5 separate regions of the Homo sapiens genome follow, and regions 1, 2, 3 and 4 are each linked to region 5. The links are contacts of gene promoters, found by promoter capture Hi-C in blood cells and fetal thymus (Javierre and others, 2016). All regions are on one chromosome and are shown on one strand. The core of a region is centred on a gene start or on the middle of the fragment in contact, and the rest is flanking DNA. Distances in the headings are between cores, read along the strand shown.

Evidence for each region. Contacts are between HindIII fragments. The CHiCAGO score rates a contact against its expected background, and 5 or more counts as called.
Region 1: the fragment with the promoter of HTR3E here is called in contact with the fragment with the promoter of VWA5B2 in region 5 in 9 of 17 cell types (endothelial precursors, M1 macrophages, M0 macrophages and 6 more); the score reaches 11.0 in endothelial precursors.
Region 2: a contact is called between a fragment that was not itself captured here and the fragment with the promoter of VWA5B2 in region 5, in 1 of 17 cell types (M1 macrophages). The highest score is 6.7, in M1 macrophages.
Region 3: the fragment with the promoter of HTR3D here is called in contact with the fragment with the promoter of VWA5B2 in region 5 in 4 of 17 cell types (megakaryocytes, endothelial precursors, M1 macrophages and 1 more); the score reaches 6.5 in megakaryocytes.
Region 4: a contact is called between a fragment that was not itself captured here and the fragment with the promoter of VWA5B2 in region 5, in 1 of 17 cell types (endothelial precursors). The highest score is 6.9, in endothelial precursors.

The regions. Positions count from the first base shown.
Region 1 is chr3:184,095,806-184,098,505 of GRCh38, forward strand. HTR3E (5-hydroxytryptamine receptor 3E) reads left to right here and starts at 1,259. Exons shown (of 9, transcript NM_001256613.2): 1 at 1,259-1,791. The coding sequence starts at 1,725. All of the region lies in intron 2 of HTR3E-AS1 (HTR3E antisense RNA 1), which reads right to left. The HindIII fragment of the contact is 4,461 bases long and covers 986-2,700 here.
Region 2 is chr3:183,989,878-183,992,731 of GRCh38, forward strand. All of the region lies in intron 2 of ABCC5 (ATP binding cassette subfamily C member 5), which reads right to left. Among named protein-coding and RNA genes, the nearest start is that of ABCC5-AS1, 15 kb to the right of the region's middle. RefSeq lists an enhancer at 196-696. The HindIII fragment of the contact is 1,078 bases long and covers 1,037-2,114 here.
Region 3 is chr3:184,030,426-184,033,125 of GRCh38, forward strand. HTR3D (5-hydroxytryptamine receptor 3D) reads left to right here and starts at 1,317. Exons shown (of 8, transcript NM_001145143.1): 1 at 1,317-1,382. The coding sequence starts at 1,317. The HindIII fragment of the contact is 12,637 bases long and covers 1-2,700 here.
Region 4 is chr3:184,012,720-184,015,570 of GRCh38, forward strand. It overlaps ABCC5 (ATP binding cassette subfamily C member 5), which reads right to left. Exons shown (of 30, transcript NM_005688.4): 2 at 1,545-1,728. The coding sequence starts at 1,673. Among named protein-coding and RNA genes, the nearest start is that of ABCC5, 3.7 kb to the right of the region's middle. The HindIII fragment of the contact is 931 bases long and covers 905-1,835 here.
Region 5 is chr3:184,228,279-184,230,978 of GRCh38, forward strand. It overlaps VWA5B2 (von Willebrand factor A domain containing 5B2), which reads left to right and starts at 1,307. Exons shown (of 20, transcript NM_001390846.1): 1 at 1,307-1,435; 2 at 2,102-2,389; 3 at 2,469-2,639. The coding sequence starts at 2,251. RefSeq lists a silencer at 1,075-1,414. The HindIII fragment of the contact is 8,832 bases long and covers 305-2,700 here.

The DNA of each region.
Region 1 (2,700 bases), core at 9-2,508, 130 kb before region 5:
CTGAGGTGAGGAGTTCAAGACCAGCCTGGACAACATGGTGAAACCCTGTCTCTAATAAAAATACAAAAATTAGCTGGGTGTGGTGGCACAAGCCTGTAGTCCCAACTACTCAGGAGGCTGAGACAGGAGAATCGCTCAAATCAAGGAGGTGGAGGCTGTAGTGAGCCAAGATCACGCCACTGCACTCTAGCCTGGGCAACAGAATGAGACTCCATCTCAAAATAAAATAAAATATGGAAGGCATCCATACTTGCATTTTGCATTCTTCGTATGTAATCATATTGTCAAAGACAAATTATGTCATAATCTATTGTAAATAACACTTTTCCCCAGACCTACCATAAAGTTTCTGCAATGTATTGTCTTCCAGTTGCAATAAAAATTACTGAGTTTCATCAAAAATTAATTAATTAATTAATTAAAATAAACACAGTTGAGGAGAGAATTTTTTTCCTGGAAGCTAGATCTGAAGAAATCATTAGGGACAGAGATAAAGAGGTAGAAAATAGGAAAGAGAGGTGTGCTAGGCAGAATAACGGCCCCCAGAATTTGTCCACATCCTAATCTCTGGAACCTTAGGTTATATGGAAAAGGGGAGTTAAGGTTGCAGATGGAATTAAGGTTGTTAATTATCGGACTTTGAGATGGGGAGACTATCCTGGATTATCCAAATGGACACAATGCAATCACAAAGGCTCTTATAAGTGGAAGAAGGAGAGAGAAACAAATAAGAACCAGAGAGATGAGATGCCTTGTGAGAAACATTGGCCTGATGTTGCTGGTTTTGAAGATGGAGAAGTAAAAATAATGAACCAAGAAATACAGGCAGTTTAAAAGCTGGAAAAGGCCGGGTACAATGGCTCATGTCTATAATCCCAGCACTTTGGGAGATCAAGGTTGGAGGATCACTTGAGGCCAGGAGTTGGAGACAAGCCTAGGCAACAAAGCGAGACCTCATTTCTACTAAAAAAAAAAAAAATAGCCAAGCTTGGTGGCTCACACCTGTGAGGTCCCAGCTACTTGGGAGGCTGAGACGGAAAGATCCCTTGAGCCCAGGAGGTCAAGGCTGCAGTGAGTCGCGATTGCGCCACTGCACTCCAGCCTGGTCAACAGAGTGAAACCCTGTCTCAAAAAAAAAAAAATCTGGAAAAGGCAAGGAAATGGATTCTCCTCTAGAGCCTCCAGAGGGAATGCGGTCCTGCTGACACATTCATTTTAGCCCAGTGAGACCCATTTCAAACTTCTGGCCCACAGAACAGTAAAATAACAAATTGTGTTTATTTAAGCCACTGGGTTTGTGATTTGTTACAACAGCAATAAAAGGCATGTAAGATAGAAGGAAACCATTCAACACATGTCTAATAAGAAAAATAGAGGAAGTGAAACATTTATAAATGTCTGAGAATTTTCCAAAATTGAAGAGATGAGTCTTCAGACCAAGGGATCTCACCAAGATCTGCAAGTTGATCACGTATGAACTATCTATAACCATTTACGTTGCAGTGAAATACCTAAGACTAAGATAAAGTCTTAAAAGCAGACTGAACCTTAAGCATAGGCAAGAACAAGACAACCAGAACACTCTTTGAAGGAAGGTTACAAATGTCAGTGGTCAACCAATGCTATTAGTATTCAAAGTCAGACTCTAGGTGTGGCCTGTGCTGCTTTAATCTGGGCATTCCTGGGTCCCAGTACATGTTCAGAGAAGAACTTAGACAAAGAAGATGGAAGGAAGCTGGTTCCACAGGAAAAGATTTTCCTTCTACCTCCTTCTCGGTTTTCTGCTTCAAGGTAAGAAAGGAGCAATGATGGGGGAAGGCGGAAGAAGGAGGACCTCTCTCTAGTAGAACATCTAGGAACTTTTTTCAAATTTCCAACTCCTAGAGATTGTCTAAGATGGATAGAGTTCTTTCATAGCTACATTACTAAGATGCCCACATAGACTTTCCTTTTCTGAAAGACGGAAAATCCCCTTCCAGTTACATGCCAAACAAGAGCACTTTCATTTTCCTTCTCGAAAAATAGAGTTCAACACCAGCAAACTTTATCCTTTCACATATGGATATCCAGTTTTCCCAATACTACTTGAAAAGTCTGTCTTTTCTCCATTGGTACCCTACATGGAAGACAACCATCCACGATCGTCTTCTCTTGTATTTAGCTTCTATATCCATCCATCTTTCTATCCACAGGTGTAATTCTTTCTCTCTACAGGTATGAAACCCAAACCATTGTAGCAAAGTGCCCACCTCCTTTAGCCATAATTTCCCTGTCCATCTGCTGGATCCAAGGGCTCTAGGTTAGGTAAGGTGCCAGAAGGCAGCAGGTCAAGGGTGAAAGTAGAATGTGCTTCTCTTCCAGGGGGTCAGCATGGTAGAGAGACAAGAACATGGGATTTGGAGACAGGTGGACCTGGGTTTGAATCTTGGTGTCTCACGTTGCTAGTTTTATAAACTTGGATGCACTGCTTAACTTATCTGAGCTCTGGTTTCCTCATCTGTAAAACAGAACCTACCTTGCAGGGTTGTGAGGATTCAGTAAGAGAAGGAGGGAAGCACAGTGTCTGGCACTTGGTAAAAGTGCCAATAACTGTCATCTCTCCTCGTTAGATTATTCCATGACTTTGGATAAGGAGGCACAGGAGAGGACTGAACCAGAGGTGACTTTAAAGGCCAGCACAGGGAAGAGACACAAATTGTA
Region 2 (2,854 bases), core at 326-2,825, 240 kb before region 5:
CATTGCAACCTCCACCTCCCGGGTTCAAGCAATTCTCCTGCCTCAGCCTCCTGAGTAGCTGGGATTACAGGGATGTGCCACCATGCCTGGCTAATTTTTGTATTTTTAGTAGAGGTGGGGTTTCACCATGTTGGTCAGGCTGGTTTCGAACTCCTGACCTCATGATCCACCTGCCTTGGCCTCCCAAAGTGCTGGGATTACAGGCATGAGCCACCGCGCCCGGCCCTGTTTTTATTTTATTTTATTTTTGAGATGGAGTCTCGCTCTGTTGCCCAGGCCGGAGTGCAGTGGCATGATCTTGGATCACTGCAATCTCAGCCTCCCCGGTTCAAGCAATTCTCATGTCTCAGCCTCCGAGTAGGGGGGTTACAGGCGTGCACCACCATGCCCAGCTAATTTTTGTATTTTTAGTAGACACGGGGTTTCACCATGTTGGCCAGGATGGTCTTGATCTCTTGACCTCGTGATCCGCCCACCTCAGCCTCCCAAAGTGTTGGGATTATAGGTGTGAGCTGCCGCGCCCAGCTTATGGACCACTCTTTGTGTTCTATGTTCTAAAATTTACATTTTTATTACCAAATGTTTTATCTTCTGTTTCCCAATATGGATTGAGAGTCAATTATTTCACTACTAACTGAAAATCTGATTGCCCATTTCCTATGACAAAAATTTCCATCAGCCCCAATTAAACAGCCCTGCCACACAGAAAGAGCCTGGATGTACACGTGCCTCCCCTGTCACAGCAGCAGCAGGGAGAACAGAACGTGAGTTCTTATCCTGGCTGCACAGCTGAAGAGCTCTACACTTCCCTGCAGCACGCAGCAAAGGATCTCATGAGCTGAAATATAAAGTTACACGTATTTACTAACTAGAAAGTGTATAAATGTTCGTTCATTAGATTAACAAAAGTGCATGCAAAAGTGCATTCTAAGTCTGACTGTGGCAGAAGAGGGTGGGTCAAGAATCTAGACACACTTATCCCCCGTTTACTCTAAAAGTAACTCAAACGTTTATGCTTTCCTGTTGTAGAAGCAGAAGCTTCATTTTCCTCAATTTCCTTATCTTCCTTTTCTGTCTTAGCAGTGAAAGTCACATTATTACAAATATTTCCAGCAATTATTGTGAAACAGTAAAAAACAGATCTCAGCTGGGCATGGTGGCTCGCGCCTGTAATCCTGACACTTTGGAAGGATCGGTTGAGCTCAGGAGTTCAAGACCACCCTGGGCAACACAGCAACACACCATCTCTACAAAAAGTAAAAAAAAAAAATCAGCCAGGCATGGTGATGCGTGCCTGCAGTACCAGCTACTTGGGAGATGGAGGCAGGAGGATGACTTCAGCCCAGGAGTTGGAGGCTGCAATGAGCTATGATCGTACCACTGCACTCCAGCCTGGGTGACAGAGCAAGACTCTGTCTCTAAAAGAAGGAAAAAAAAAACAAAAAACAAACAAACAAACAAAAAAACAAGGAGAATAGATCCCCAAATCAAGAAAAAGTTAAGTGGTTTAGCACCTAACACACCAAGCCTTATACAAAGCAGTTGATTTTTATACATCACCTCCTTTCCCACCAAAGAACAGCGGGAACTTAAACATTAACAGAACTGAACGGGTAGAATTTTGTATACAGGAGTCAGCTGGATGCCTGGGCAGATCAAACACAATAGCTTTAGTTCACAGCACAGTTAAGTATCTTTAGATAACTTCTGGTATTAGGAAAGCACATAGCCCTGCAAAGCACACTCCTTTCCTTTTGTCAAAGGCAAGTCAGACCAGTTTCAAGAGAATAATGGTACAACATGACAGGAGTCAACAACAAGAACGAACTCGCTCTTAAATGAAGTCCTTATGTATAAGGTCAACACTTAATTTAGTGGTTAGGGACTACGGCACTTGATAATGAGCTGAGGACTGCTGAGATTTAAGTACATTACAAAGGTTTTTCTTACCTATGAGCTGCATATAATCACAAGGGGAAGGAAAAAACCTCCTGGATTGAGAGAGAAAGATACACTAAAAATACAAGCACACCTACTTTAAGTGAGTAGAAACTGGGAATCTGTACAGAGTAGGTACAGAATGTTACAGGGACCAGCCTTATTTGGATATCCAAAGCTTCAGAAGATGACAAAAGATCTGAAAAATGTCACTTCAAATACATTGCCAAAATGGACTATACATTGGGCTATAAAGCAAACCTCAACAAATCTCAAGACTGACATCATGTATACATGCACTCTGACCACTTTAGGATTTAATTAGAGTTCAGTAACAAAGATTTTTAAAATATCTGAATGTTCAGAAATTATGCAATATACTTCTAAGTAATGTAAGTGAAAGAAAACATCAAACGGGCATGACAATTTGTACCTATATAATCTCAACTACTCAGGAGGCTGAGGTGGGAGGATTGCTTGAGCTCAGGAGTTTGAGGCTGCAGTGAACTTTGATCTCACCACTACACTCCAGACTGGGCAACAGAACAAGACTCTATCTCTTTAAATTAATAAATAAAAAGAAGGCATTAAATGGAAACCAGAACATATTCTGTGCTAAACAGTATGAAACTGCAATACATCAACATCTCTGGGATGCAGCTAAAACAGAGAATAAGGTGAGATTTTCATCGCTTTCAAAGCATATACGCCTGTAATCCTAGCACTTTGGGAGGCCAAGGTGGGCGGATCACGAGGTCAGGAGATCGAGACCATCCTGGCTAACACGGTGAAACCCCGTCTCTACTAAAAAAAAATACAAAAAATTAGCTGGGCGCCATGGCAGGCACCTATAGTCCCAGCTACTCGGGAGGCTGAAGCAGGAGAACGGTGTGAACCTGGGAGGCGGAGCTTGCAG
Region 3 (2,700 bases), core at 67-2,566, 200 kb before region 5:
CTGGGCTTTGTGGTGCATGCCTGTAATTCCAGCTACTCGGGAGGCTGAGGCAGGATAATCGCTTGAACCCGGGAGGCAGAGGTTGTGGTGGGCCAAGATCGCGCCATTGCACTCCAGCCTGGGCAGCAAGAGAGAAACTCCATTTAAAAAAAAAAATCATAAGTCAGCTTTTATTTTAAAAAAGTATTACCTCTGCCACCACCCCCTACTCCACTAATCACTCCCTTCATTGGGTAGACCTGGGTCCAGATTGCTTTTGAAACACTAAAAAGGCATAGCAAATCAGCTTTGAGAAGAGGAAGCAGAAATATGTCATCACTGGAGCAGTGCTAATGGCTTCCTCATACTTTAAAGTCTTAACTATACTGAAGTCATGTTTAAAACCTCAGTGTATGAAGTTGCTTATATTAATAGGGACCCCCCTCCCCCCAACACGCTTTCTTTTTTGAAAGATGGCAGTAGGGGGCCGGGCATGGTAGCTCACGCTTGTAATTCCAGCACTTTGGGAGCCAAGGTGGGCAGATCACCTGAGGTCAGGAGTTTGAGGCCAGCCAACCAACATGGTAAAACCTCGTCTCTACTAAAAATACAAAAACTTAGCCAGGCATGGTGGCAGGCGCCTGTAATCACAGCTACTTGGGAGGCTGAGGCAGGAGAATCGATTGAACCCGGGAGGCGGAGGTTGCAGTGAGCCAAGACTGCACCATTGCACTCCAGCCTGGGAGACAGAGGGAGACTCCGTCGCAAAAAAAAAAAAGGAAGGGAGGGAGGGAGGGAGAAAGAGAGAGAGAGGGAGGGAGGGAGAGAGAGAGAGAGAGAGAGAGAAGGAAAGAAAGAAAAAAGAAAGAAAAAGAGAAAGAGAAAGAAAGAGAAAGAAAGAAAAAGAAAGAGAAAAGAAAGAAAGAAAGAAGAAAGGAAAAGAAAAGAAAGAAAGATGACAGCAGGGTCTAACAAGTTCACGTGCCACCTGGAGGCAGTGGTAGTCATCCATGCCTTCTCGGTGAGGCACTGTACGCCAGAGTGACTTTAAAGTATGAGGAAGCCATTAGCACTGCTCCAGGGACCACATATTTTTGCTTCCTCTTCTCCAAACTGATTTGCCATATTACTTTTGGAGGCTAGATTCAGGCCCAGTTAAAGCACAGGGTGAGTTATTCCTCTGTGACATTCTTTTGTCACCAAGGGGTCTTGTTAGAGAGGCGGTTAATGCCAGCTGATATATATATTATTCAAAGGTAGGGCTCAAGGTGTGATCTGAGGTTTTTTAAAGGTTAACATCATCATCAAGTACCCAGAGAAGTGCCAAAGAGAGGAAGATGGAAAGAGGCTGGTTCCATGGGAAAGGATTCCTCCTTGGCTTCATCCTCCACCTGCTGCTGCAAGTACCTTAAGATAAGAGCAAGAGCTGAGCAGACATGTAACTCCTGGGAAGCAGAGAAAACAGGCTAATATTTTTTATTCTGAGATAGTCAATGATTGGATGTTCGTTATGGTAAAAATGATGCTCGTGACACTGATGGCTTTGTACCTCTTCCTAGGATCCTAATATTTAGTTAACTCTTTTCTCTTCTTTTTTTTTTTTTTTTTGAGATGGAGTCTCGCTCTGTTACCCAGGCTAGAGTGCAGTGGCAATATCTCAGCCCATTGCAACCTTCACCTCCCAGGTTCAAACGATCTCATGCCTCAGCCTCCCAAGTAGCTGGGATTACAGGCACCTGCCACCGTGCCTGGCTAATTTTTGTATTTTTAGTAGAGATGGGGTTTCACCATGTTGGCCAGGCTGGTCTTGAATGCCTGTCCTCAGGTGATCTGCCCGCGTGGGCCTCCCAAAGTGTTGGGATTACAGGCGTGAGCCCCTGAGCCCAGCCTGGGAACTCTTTAAGATAATCCTAGTGATGAAGACTACTAAATGTTAGAACAATCACAGCACATAGTAAAGACACAGTAAATACTCATCAAATTGAAAAACTGAAATTGATTTGTTTCCTTAAGATCCCATATATCTCACACTACCTATCTGATTACTCCCCTTATCATTAATTTATTAGCATCTATGCCATATTAATACAGCGAGGCGGAGAACTGTGAGTGCAAAATTTGTCACTGACATCACCCACATGGCTCCAGGTTGGAGGTAAGCAAGAGAAGGACACTGGCAGAAGGTGGAGAGGTTGCAGTGAGATTGTTAAGGACATGGCAGGACACTGTAAAGTGGCGGTCGGGGTTGAGTTTGCATACACATCTGGACAGGTTTTGCATGGGGACAAAACAATGGCACTGAGGATGGATCCTTGACTCAGCTCACCTCATCAGTTTCCACCATTTGCCTACCAGCTCAGCCTACTCTTCCTGGACCAGGAAGGAGGAGCTCACATGCTTCTCCCAGTGCCCCCTGTTTTCTCTCCATGCAGAAACACTCTCCAGGCCCCCCAGCCCTGGCCCTCCTCTCTCAGTCTCTGCTCACTACAGGAAATGGCGACACTTTGATTATCAATTGCCCAGGCTTTGGCCAGCACAGGGTGGACCCTGCAGCCTTTCAAGCAGTGTTTGACAGAAAGGCTATTGGTCCAGTCACCAACTACAGTGTCGCCACTCATGTCAACATCTCCTTCACCTTGTCTGCCATCTGGAAGTTGTAAGTCCTCACCCAACATTGCAGTGGTCTAGTGGTGAGCAGTGGACCCTCTGACTGGATTTTTT
Region 4 (2,851 bases), core at 120-2,619, 220 kb before region 5:
CAAAAGGACATGAGGAAGTTATAAAACTGGCACCACGAGAAGCATTTGACACTGATTACATTAAGCCTGTTTCTCTGAAGTTAAACCTGAATGGAAAAGCATTCTATAATACACAGTAGGGTACAGAAAAGACTCATTAGCAAGAAAATGTTCATTAATAAAGCAATGGCTTTAACACAACCAAAGAGGGAAAGGTAGTATCAGGCTAAGGAAAGGCCAGTGTCAGCTGCAAAGTCCATTATCTTTCTCAAATTTTCACATAACAAATACACCAACAAAAACCTCAACTTCCTAAACCTAGTCCATTCTGCCTTATTAGGTACTTTTGTAAGAAAAGGTATAATGCTTTTTTTCCTCAGGAAAAAGAATATTTTCTCGAGGTAAAAACGCATCTTCATTATTTCCCTTGGAGGAAATTAGATTATTATCTAAAGACTGCTTAACTTATGAATTCGCTTGAAAAACATACTGATAATCCCACAACTATCTAGAATTGTTCTGAAATCTGAGTCTCTCCAAAGGATTCACATTTTATTTTATTTTTTATTTTTTTGGAGACGGAGTCTCACTCTGTTGCCCAGGCTGGAGTGCAGTGGCGTGATCTTGGCTCACTGCAACCTCTGCCTCCTGGATTCAAGCAATTCTCCTGCCTCCCTCCTGAGTAGCTGGGAGTACAGGTGCCCACCACCACACCTCACTAATTTTTGTATTTTTAGCAGAGACAGGGTTTCACCGTGTTGGCCAGGCTGGTCTCAAACTCCTGACCTCAAGTGACCCACCCACCTCAACCTCCCAAAGTGCTGGGATTACAAGCATGAGCCACTGTGCCTGGCCAGGTTCACATTTTAAACACACATGACAGAAAGTAGAAGAAAACACCAATTTTGTTTAGGTACATGAATGAAGCTTAATTGGCTTTATATTCCCTGTCATTGACCCCATGACCCCCTCCCCCTCAATAAGTTGTCTTCTGTTAAGTATAGCCTTTTCAGAAGGCACCAACATAGAATAAAAGTGAAAAAGAGGAGAATGCTCAGAACAGACCGGGTGAGAGGGTGACAGCCAGCCTCTCTTCCACTTATTGAGTGCTTACTATGGACCAGAGACTTATCAATAACCATAAATTCTTAACAGTAACCTAAAGCCAATAAAGAAAAACACATTTTTTTTTGAGACTGAGTCTCGCTCTATCGCCCAGGCTGGAGTGCAGTGGCATGATCCCAGCTCACTGCAACCTCCGCCTCTTGGGTTCAAGCGATTCTCGTGCCTCAGCCTCGCAAGTATCTGGGATTATAGGCGCCCGCCACCACGCCTGGCTAATTTTTGTACTTTTAGTAGAGACAGGTTTTCACCATGTTGGTCAGGCTGGTCTCGAACTCCTGACCTCAGATGATCCACCCGCCTCAGCCTCCCAAAGTGCTGGGTTTATAGGCGTGAGCCACCGCGCCCGGCCAAAAAATAAGTTTCTAAATTACCCATTATACGAAAAAAGATGTGTTTTAGTACAACAAGCAGGTAAGAGACTCTTAGGAAAGGAAACTGACCGGTCGAGTTCTCCTGAACTTGGAATCTTCACGGTCTCTGTGCGTCCCAGAAGTGCTGGTTCTCTCCCTCACACTTCTATACCCAGGACTGGGGATGATATACTCTTTTCCTATGTCGATATCCTTCATCTTCTCTGAGTGGAGGTTCCAGGGCTCACAGACTGTTAGTTTCACATCAGAATTCCTGAAATTAAAAATTCATCAAGAAATAGATTATTTCCTAAACAGTACTTAACCATAAGCTCAAGTGCCTTAAAAATAGGAAAAAAAAAAAAAAGGCAAAAGTACTAAAGCTTTCTACTGTTATAGCTACAAAAATTAATTTTCAAAAAAAGTTCAAAGATTTTGATTTCATTTTTTTAAAGAAAAAGATTCAGTATAAGAGAATCAAGAAAAATTACCTTCTCCCAACTCTAAGGGAAAAAAAATTAGAAACAGTAAACACACTAGTAAAGAGACACCCATTCTCTTCAACTAAGCTCAAATCCAGTGTATACAATAGAAAGGTTGGTTTTTTTTTTAAAGACTTTCTAGAAACAATTTCAGTTTGTCCCAAGTATTAAAAACTCCACAATTTTAAAGTGGACATCATTTCTTCTACTAAATTTTACTAAATAAAAACTTACCAAACACTTATTCTACCAATGATATATTCCATCTCTGCCTTTTTATAATTAACTAATGGGTTAGCTGGTGTTATTTTAAAGCTCCATGAAGTTATCCAGTTAAAACAATGTTATAACTTAACTTCAAACACAAATTCCCTGGGTACTGAAAATGTTCTAAAACTAGATAGTGGTAATGGTTGCACAATGCAGTGAATACATTGAAAAAAAACACACTGAATTTATACTTTAAAAGAGTGAATTTCATGTCATATAAATCCTATGGCAACAAAGCTGTTAGTAAAAAACAATAACAAAAACAAATTCTCCACCCTGTATTACTAAGTCTTACCTAGTTTTTACCTGAAACTCTATTCTAAACCACTGCTTGCCTGGCTAAGTCTAATCAATATGCTGTATCAACTCAGGTCACTTAAAAACAAAAAACACATACATACTTCTCCAAAATGTTTCCCCCCTCTAAGAAGGGTCACAGCCTCCCAGAGACAAGCTGAGAAAACACCTTTCATACTAGCCTCCAACGGAAATTAAAGACGTGTAGCCGTGTCGCCTTCTGGATTCCATAAATCCCTGGCTATCGCTGTGACTTAAAACTACTACTTCTGCAGCACAAAATTCTAACCATTATAATGCAATTTTTAAAGTGTCAGATAAAAAGAGAACACTTACTAATCCTCTGAA
Region 5 (2,700 bases), core at 57-2,556:
CCCTGTATCATTCCTGTGCATTTCCACCCATGAAATTCCCTGGGAAAAGGTCAAGCTCTCTCCACCATGCTAAGTAGGGTGAGCAAAGGAGATGGTTGGGGTTGAGGGCTCAGATACTCAAGGAGGCAGGGATCCCCCGGGGGGATGATCCCTGGTGATAGTGATTGAAATCAGAAGGAGAGAGTTAATGCGGAGGAGTGAGAACCATGGGCCCGACTCGAAAGCTCACTTCCTACTGGCTGTCCTCCATCCCCAGCTCTCCTCAAGCTCTCTCTGCAGAATCTCAGTATGGCATCTGCCAAAAAGCTTACATGGATGATCCCCAAACATGGTCATCTCCTCTCACTTCCCCAGGGCTCTCAGACTCTTCCTTGGGGGACCTGGGAGAGGTTTTCCGGACCTTCCTACTTTTTGACAGCATAACACTGTCAAGCACATGCAAAGTCTGCCAATAACAAGGGGCCCTCCTGACAAGCAGAGATGTTTTCTCTTCAGGGCTGCGGTGATGGGTGGGGGTCACTGCTATGAGGGGACGGTCTGCAGCCATAAGAAGGCTCTTCAGGCTAGAAGGCTTCACTCCCAAGGCCCGCACAGCTGAAGAGACCAAGGGGTTATAGGCTGAGGGCGCTATTGTGCACACCCTCCCACCCCAGCAGAAGTGGTTGGCACTGCAGCGATGCCAAGGCCGGCTGCTTGGGGGTGGGAGGAGGTCGCTGCAGTGATGAGGAATCCCTGCTTGGAGTGAGTGGTCACTGAAGTGGCTGCATGAACTAAAAGTACCTGCAGGGATGGGGGAGGTTTTCTGCAGTGATGAAGAGCACTTTGCAAAGGAAAGGGGCCAGCTTCTTGGGGGAAGAGTCCTGCGGTGACGGTGATGGGGGGCTGGGGGGTTCGCTGCAGTCAGGAGGGAGGGTCTCTGCAGCGATGGGAAGCAACCCAGGGCAGGGGGTGGGGTGGGCTGGGGAATGGGATGCCGTCGTGGTAATGGGATAGCTGGGGTCGCGGCAGTGTCGGTGGCACTTGCAGGACGCCTGATTCCTGAAGAATGGAAAGGGTGGGGTCTCTGAGGCCTCGGTCCTGCAGTGACGGGGATCCGTGCGGCGGCGGGGACGCGGTCCCTGCACTGCGGTGCCCAGTCTGGCTCGGGCTGCCGCGGCTGGCGCGGAGGCGGTACCGCGCCCGAAGGAGGGGGGAGCGCCAGCCCCGCCGCAGCAGCAGCAGGCGTGGCCAGGGCAGGCTGGAGGGGCGGCCTCTCGGAACGGGGGCGGGACCACCGCCGGCAGGGCCCGCGCCCCTGCCGGGACTCAGAGCCGCTGCAGCCACAGTCACGAACTGGCGGCCGGCAGGTGCCGGGACCGAGGGCCACCCGGAGCGCAGAGGCGGCACCACCCACACGGATCCCGTGGGCACCTAGAACTCCGCGGAGGGCGCGACGGTGAGGCTGAGACTGCCACAGGGAGCGGGGCGATCCCCAGAGCCAGCCCGCGGCATCCCCTGCGCGGGCCGCGGCCACTGCAGGTGCCCCCTCCTCCCACATCAGCTCTGCCGGGGTAGGGAGCGGTAACCTGGCGGCTCCCACGGACTCTCCCTGGCCCGACACCTCTCCCGGGCTTGCCTCCCAAAGACCCCCTCTTTTCGCTTTCCCAGCTCGTTCTTCCCACCCTTAACCCCTCCACTCCGGCCAGCACCCCCGTCGGATGAGGCACCAGGGAGAGAAAGACCAAGGCCCTTTCGGCGCCCCATCCACCCTGCCCCCGCGATCCCTCGCAGGGCCGGGGGCCTCCGGGGGGATTCGGGCCCTTTAAACCTCCGCCTTCCCGGAGCATCTTCCATCTCCACCCGCGCCGCTTCCGACAGCTGGCGGCCGCGGGGGGCCCCGGGGGGCCGGCAGGTACGGGGGTGGCTGCGAGGTTGGGAGTGGGCGGTGGAACAGCTGTGACCGCCCCCACCCCCGGGGGAGCCGCGGCGGGACTGCTGGGCGCCGAAGCGCGCGTTAATCATTAACCCTCCGCGGCCCGGCTGCCCAGGTAACGCGTGAGGATGCCCTCCTCGCCACCACGCCTGCCGCCCCCTTATCTCCCCCGCCACCTGTCGCCCTCAGGAGCTCCCGCTCGGCCTCGCGCCCCGGCAGGCCCCGTCCGGGTGCTGGAGTGAGACTCTCGCGCTGGCCTCTGGAGCGCGGGGTGGGCGTCCCGTCACCCTGCGCCCAGCTTCCCCGGCCCGTTCCCGCAGGGCCGGCCTCCCGGCGCCATGCCCGGCCTGTACTGCCCCTCCAGCTGGACGCCGCTGCCGCTCACGGACTCCTGGGTCCGGGCCTGCGCCAACGGCCCCTGCCTCAGCGTGCGGGCCCGGCTCACCTACCGCAACCCGCAGCCGCAGCCGGTGGACGGTGAGGCCCGGGTGGGGCGCGGGCGCGGCGGGGGGTGCGCCGGGCAGGGTCCGACGCCGCCTCCCGCCGCCCTCCCCAGGCGTGTTCGTGTACCCGCTGGCCGAGGCCGAGGTGGTGTCCGGCTTCGAGGCCGAGGCCGCCGGACGGCGCGTCTCCTTCCAGCTGCAGAGCCGGCGCCGCTCGCAGGCCGCCTGCTGCCGCGCTCTGGGCCCGGGGCTGGGGACCCCGACGCCCCGCCGCTGCGCGCAGGGTGAGTTCCGCGCGCCCGCACCCGCGCTCCTGAAAGCCGGGCGCAGCTCAGGCTCCCGCAT